2 separate regions of the Homo sapiens genome follow, and region 2 is linked to region 1. The links are contacts of gene promoters, found by promoter capture Hi-C in blood cells and fetal thymus (Javierre and others, 2016). All regions are on one chromosome and are shown on one strand. The core of a region is centred on a gene start or on the middle of the fragment in contact, and the rest is flanking DNA. Distances in the headings are between cores, read along the strand shown. Region 1 holds the start of GSK3A (glycogen synthase kinase 3 alpha). Region 2 overlaps SCAF1 (SR-related CTD associated factor 1).

What was found. The method cuts DNA at HindIII sites, captures the fragments that hold promoters and counts their contacts. A CHiCAGO score of 5 or more calls a contact.
Region 2: a contact is called between a fragment that was not itself captured here and the fragment with the promoter of GSK3A in region 1, in 1 of 17 cell types (non-activated CD4 T cells). The highest score is 6.1, in non-activated CD4 T cells.

The regions. Positions count from the first base shown.
Region 1 is chr19:42,241,192-42,244,339 of GRCh38, reverse strand. GSK3A (glycogen synthase kinase 3 alpha) reads left to right here and starts at 1,738. Exons shown (of 11, transcript NM_019884.3): 1 at 1,738-2,157. The coding sequence starts at 1,875. RefSeq lists enhancers at 1-56, 1-452, 1,067-1,116, 453-1,247, 1,177-1,386 and silencers at 1,677-1,886, 1,917-2,196. The HindIII fragment of the contact is 12,371 bases long and covers 1-3,148 here.
Region 2 is chr19:49,642,488-49,645,351 of GRCh38, reverse strand. It overlaps SCAF1 (SR-related CTD associated factor 1), which reads right to left. Exons shown (of 11, transcript NM_021228.3): 2 at 218-331. The coding sequence starts at 325. Among named protein-coding and RNA genes, the nearest start is that of SCAF1, 1.7 kb to the right of the region's middle. The HindIII fragment of the contact is 474 bases long and covers 1,202-1,675 here.

The sequences.
Region 1 (3,148 bases), core at 489-2,988:
CTGAGGTAGAATCGCTTGAGCCCAGGAATTGGAGACCAGCCTGGGCAACATGGCGAAGCCCACCCCGCTACCCCCCACCACCCCAAAAAACAAACCAAACCAAATTAGCTGGGCGTGATGGTGCACGCCTGTAGTCCCACCTACATGGGAGGCTTAGGTGGGGGGATTGCTTGAGCCTGGGAGTTAGAGGCTGCAGTGACCTGTGATTGCGCCACTGCCCGCCAGCCTGGGCGGCAGAGCGAGACCCTGTCTCAAAACAAACCAAAAACTGAAAACTGAATGGTGGTTCAAGACAGGATTTTTTTTTTTTTGAGACGGAGTCTCACTCTTTTCGCCCAGACTGGAGTGCAGTGGCGCGATCTCGGCTCACTGCAACCTATGCCTCCCGGGTTCAAGCGATTCTCCTGCTTCAGCCTCCTGAGTAGCTGGTATTACAGGCGCCCGCCACCACACCCGGCTAATTTTTGTACTTTTAGTAGAGACGGGGGTTTCGCTATGTTGGCCAGGCTGGTCTCGAACTCCTGACCTCGGATGATCCGCCAGCCTCGGCCTCCCAAAGTGCTAGGATTACAGGCGTGAGCTACTGGCGCCCAGCCTGAGCCACAGCGCCAGGCCCAGAAATGACATTTCCGTCTTTTTAATGCTCCATTCAGCTTCCTGGTGCGAACCACATTGCTAGGAAAAGCTAGACTGTATCCGAAGACTAGTTAGTGTTCTGAGAAACCGCCGGGAACTTTGTTTCCCGAATCTTTGCAGAGTTGCGGTTAGAGAGGGGACATTTTTTCTTTCCTGATCTATGGTCACCTGGAACTTAAAGGTGCTTGGATCCATTTTCCAGCAGTCCTTGATCGACCTCGGCTCTTTCTTAAAGAAGGACCTGGGGGCGAGGAAGGAGGCGCTGAAACACTTTTAAGTCTCTCCAGGGAACTGCCGCAGTCTCTAACCTTTCGTTCACACGCCCCTGATGGTGGCCATTGGACTTCGCTTCCCGGCAAGCCTCCGCAGACTGGCCTCACAGAGGGTCAGGTCTGGACTATTCCCCAGCATGCTTGGAGCTCATGGGCGATCCCGCCCCCTCAGTCAATGGGGAGGATACGTCGAACTCCATTTCCCAGAACACACCAGGGCTCGCTGTGGCAACTGCACTGAGGCCTTGGTGCTGACTACACTTCCCGGCAGGGACTGCGGCCCAGCGTACCTGGAAAGAGGAGCGCGTAAACCTACTCCATTTCCTCGCCCATCTCCGGAACTGCAGTATCCACCTGGGGCTTAAAAACCACCTGAGACTCCATTTCCCGGCGTGCTTTAAAAATCGCTTTACACCTGCAATGCGGTGAGGGCGTGGCGACGACTCCATTTCCCGGCTTGCCTCACGGCCCGAGACCCGCAGGTTCACGCGGGCCGACTCAATTTCCCAGAGCGCACCGAGCTCTGGGAGGCATACACAGCTAATAGACTGAGTGAGTGGACTCCGTTTCCCAGCGTGCATCAGGCTCTCTGCTTCCTAAAGTGCTTCAGGGCTCCCCGTCGTACAGTCGGCTGACAGATTACCCTGGACTCCATTTCCCGACGTACAGCGTGACCCGTCATTCCCGCCCATCATTCCCGCGGTCTACTCTGAGGCTTTTGTGGACTTCATTTCCCGGCGTGCCACGCGGCTCTCTGTGCGGGCCGAGGGCGGTGACGGCGGCGCGGACGACAGCCGGACTGCATCTCCCGGCGTGCCCCGCGGCGGGCGCTGGGCCGGAGCCGGAGCCCAAGCCAGAGCGGCGCGGCCTGGAAGAGGCCAGGGCCCGGGGGAGGCGGCGGCAGCGGCGGCGGCTGGGGCAGCCCGGGCAGCCCGAGCCCCGCAGCCTGGGCCTGTGCTCGGCGCCATGAGCGGCGGCGGGCCTTCGGGAGGCGGCCCTGGGGGCTCGGGCAGGGCGCGGACTAGCTCGTTCGCGGAGCCCGGCGGCGGAGGCGGAGGAGGCGGCGGCGGCCCCGGAGGCTCGGCCTCCGGCCCAGGCGGCACCGGCGGCGGAAAGGCATCTGTCGGGGCCATGGGTGGGGGCGTCGGGGCCTCGAGCTCCGGGGGTGGACCCGGCGGCAGCGGCGGAGGAGGCAGCGGAGGCCCCGGCGCAGGCACTAGCTTCCCGCCGCCCGGGGTGAAGCTGGGCCGTGAGTACTAGTGGCGCCCGTGTAGGGTGGTGATTAGGGTTCCCAAAGCTCCTCAGACATCCATCAGATTCTTTCATGTGCTTAGATAGGAGCTCGAGGTCACTGTGCCTCCCCATACCGGGGATCCGAGCCCTCTTCCTCCCAGGAAAAGGAGTCTTGGGGTTACCATCTCTTGGAGATCAGAATTACTCGTGGATCAGAATTACTAACACTTAAAGAAACGGGTTACAAGTCTCTGTTCTTCCATTATTGAGGTCTTGGGTCCTTGAGCCTTAAGAACAGGTATCTGATGTTGCTATTCATTATAATATTGGATCAGAGGTCACAGTCGCTTGCAAATGGGGATCTAGGGTTATTGTCTCCTAAGAGAACAAGAATAAGACCAACCCCGAAAAAGAGGGATCTGCATTCCCTGTCCTTCAGAAGATGGGGATTTGGAGCGAATATCACTTAGAAGCAGGGCTTTGAGGTTACTGTGTTTTGTCCCCAAAGAATAGGGCCAGGCTTTCCAAACCTGGTACTCAGATCATCTTCCCTATTAAAACCAAGACCTGGCATCATTACCCACCCTAAATCTTGTTGAGCTGTACTGCCAATGGTGAGAATTAATAGTTACTGCCTTTTAGATATAAAGACATTGGGAGTCAGCATATCCTTCAAACCAAGTCCATAGTCCATGTTTTAAAATACATGGCTTGGTGTGTCTCCTTTAACAAAAATGGAATGGAGCAGGGTAGGTCACAGTTTCCTACAGAATATGGATCTAAGGTTATACTTTTTTAATAATTGTTCTAAGGTATGGTGTCATTGGCTCTGAAAAAAAAAAGTGATGTAGGGTTATCTCCCTCTGAAAGAACTTGTCACTGGCCCCTCAAAATGGATTTGGTGGCCGGGCGCGGTGGCTCACGCCTGTAATCCCAGCACTTTGGGAGGCTGAGGTGGGCGGATCACCTGCGGTCAGGAGTTCGAGACCAGCCTGGCCAACTGGTGG
Region 2 (2,864 bases), core at 189-2,688, 7.4 Mb before region 1:
GGGGAAGGGGGGAAGAACCAAGCGTCAGAGGACCCAGGCAGATGCTTTGCAACCTCTGCCCCTTGGGAGACAGACATCCCAGACACTGACAGCTAGACTCAAGTGCTTCAAGGGAGCCAAGAGTCCAGCGCCCCTGCCTCAGGCCCTGGAGTCAGGCCCCTGGAGTGTGGATGCCCAGCTCCTCCATCCCTCAGTGCCAGGAGCCCAGCAGCCTCACCAGGATAAAGGCAGAAGGAGAAAGCGTGGGGTCTCTGTCTGGCGGACCATCGCCCCGATCCTCCCCCGACTCCTCTGTCTTCCCTCGAGACTCATCTTCTTCCTCCATGGTCACCTGGGGGTCCAGGGGGGAGAGTTTGGAGTGGAGGTCCCGGGAGAAAGGATGGAAGTAGAGGATAGACATGAAGACCTCAAGGGCCCCACACTATCTCCCTCAGCATCCCCTCTGGCACCCCTCCTCTCCTCCACCTCCTCCCACTCCACCCTGTGCTTGGGTGGGCGCTGGACCCAGCACAGACACCCCAGGGACTAGGAGCAATTCTCTTCCTTTTTTCTGGGTCTCAGGTGCCTCTTATGTCAAAGGGAGGCCTCCCTGGCCTCCGCTTTTAACATCTCACTCCTCAATTCCCGCAGCTTCCCCAACAACCTATCCAAACTTCAAGACCTCATTCCCTGGCCTCCTAAGAGGCAAAGCCAACACCAAGGTTTTTTGTGTGTGCTGCACTGTGATTTCAAAGGGTGTGTTCCACAGTCCTATAAACCCACCTTTCCCAAGGCCAATGTGCTGGGCAATATTCAACACCATGCCTTAAACACCACACGGCTTCCTAGAGCATCAACTGTCCTCGATGGTGAGGACCACCCCCAAATTGTATTTATACACCTAAGTTGGAAACTTCATTGAGTGATCTGCAAAACCAGTATGCCATTTTTAAAATGAAAACGCTAAACTTCAGAAAGACATGCCGAAGGAAAACTTCACAGGAGGCATTTACCTATCGCCATCTGCACAAAGCCTTTGCAATGTCATGGAAATTCTTTGATATGATTCCCCAGTCAGGCAGTTGAAAGATCATCCATCAAACAGGTGGATGTCTTGATTAGGGCTTCAGAAAAATATGAATATTTCAGCTGTAAGCTTCCCCATGACTGTCAAATCTGCTACTCATAAGACAATATCCAATCTCAAAATTCCTAGAAAGCTTCAAAATCCCTAACCCACAACTCAGTATGCTTAATTGTAAATGCACGAAATAGGAGCATCTATCTCAGAGAATGGCTGTGAATACTCAAAGCCTGACTTCTGCCACACATTTAGAGCACCTCAAGTGCTCAATACGGATGAAGAGGAATGACACTATTAGCCCTTAACGCCCAGGTTTCCCCTACATCTGTCTCCTCGCTTCCCCCACAGCATGCCTGCAAAGACAAGGCCCTGGTCCTGTTCTAGATCCCATATAGATTTTCAAACCATGCCAAGCCTCCATATTCAGCCTCCCAGCTCCACCTAATTCCTAACTTCCTAAGACACACCCAACCCTGATAGTCTATTACATCCCAGCCTCTTTCACCAATACTCAATAAGCTCAGCCCCAGTTCCTGGCCCTGGAACTGCTCTCCAGCACCTCCCGGGGAAGCACATGCTACCTACAACAGTGACTGTCACATATCAGAAGCTTAATCAACATCTGCTGACTACAGGCTGAGGGATCCCCAAACCCTCTGCAGTATACAAAGATGCTTGCTTGCTCATTTAGAAAGCACCAGGCTTCGCAGACACACCCTCAGCTACTGAGATCTTCTGAACAGAAGAATGCTCTGCAGATACTGCTAGGTCCTATCTGGATCAGTGGTTTCCCCAACAACAGGGTCATATACCAGTTTAGTGCTTCACAAATAGCTTGTTTTAAAAAGTAAATAGAACAAAATAGTTCTTCACAGCACAGCACAAGTAGTAAGTGGAAATGTCAATTCGTGGAAGGTGAGTTAATGTTAATACATTATGTTATATAATGTTAAATACATTATGACTGTCTGTACCAGGTCTCAATGAAAAAATGTATCTTAATGCAGATCACGGTCAACATGGCCCAGGTTTCCCCTTGAAAAGCACTGTAATAGTGGGTCTAGATGACCCTCCAGACTCTTCCAGACTAATGTAGATTAATTCTAACTCTCTCAATAACCCCCAGGGTAATGCAGAATCTTAAAACATTTTTCATTTGAATTACTGTCTGAAGGGCAAGTATATCTAAGCTGGGCAAAATTTCCTCATTCTCTTTCCGTATTATTATTCGCCACAAGCTGCTCTGACCCCAAAGGCATTCGAATTTGCTCCAGGCATCAAAACTGCATTCCTGCAGTCACATTAAAGCCATCTAGATGGTTCCAGGTCCTTCTAACTGCCCCCAGCCTCCTGTCACCCATTATTAGACACTACCCATACCTTGGAGACCCCAGACCCTCAGTACATCTCAATATTTGGCGCCCTTCCCTGGTGGGCATAACCCAACCCCCTAGGGGGCCCTAAATGACTTCTTAGCCCTTGAACACTCCTTCTAGGCCTGATAAATGGCCCCAGACTTATGCAGACCAGTTGCATCCTCAGGCCAGCCCATGCAGACACTTTCCAGCCCTAAAAGACATACCCCAGGCCTCTAGATGGCTCTGAAGATACTCTTCAGGTCTTGCAGACCCTCCTTCACCCCTGGGACATATCTCAAGATCTCAAGATGGCCCCAGAACCCTCTAACCAGACCCTAGCCTCCGGTCAGCCCAAAAAGACAATCTACAGTGTCTACAGACACGATCCAGGCCAGCTGTGTGATGGAGGGCAGGCCTTAGGCTCGGTCTAGGCCCAGAGACGC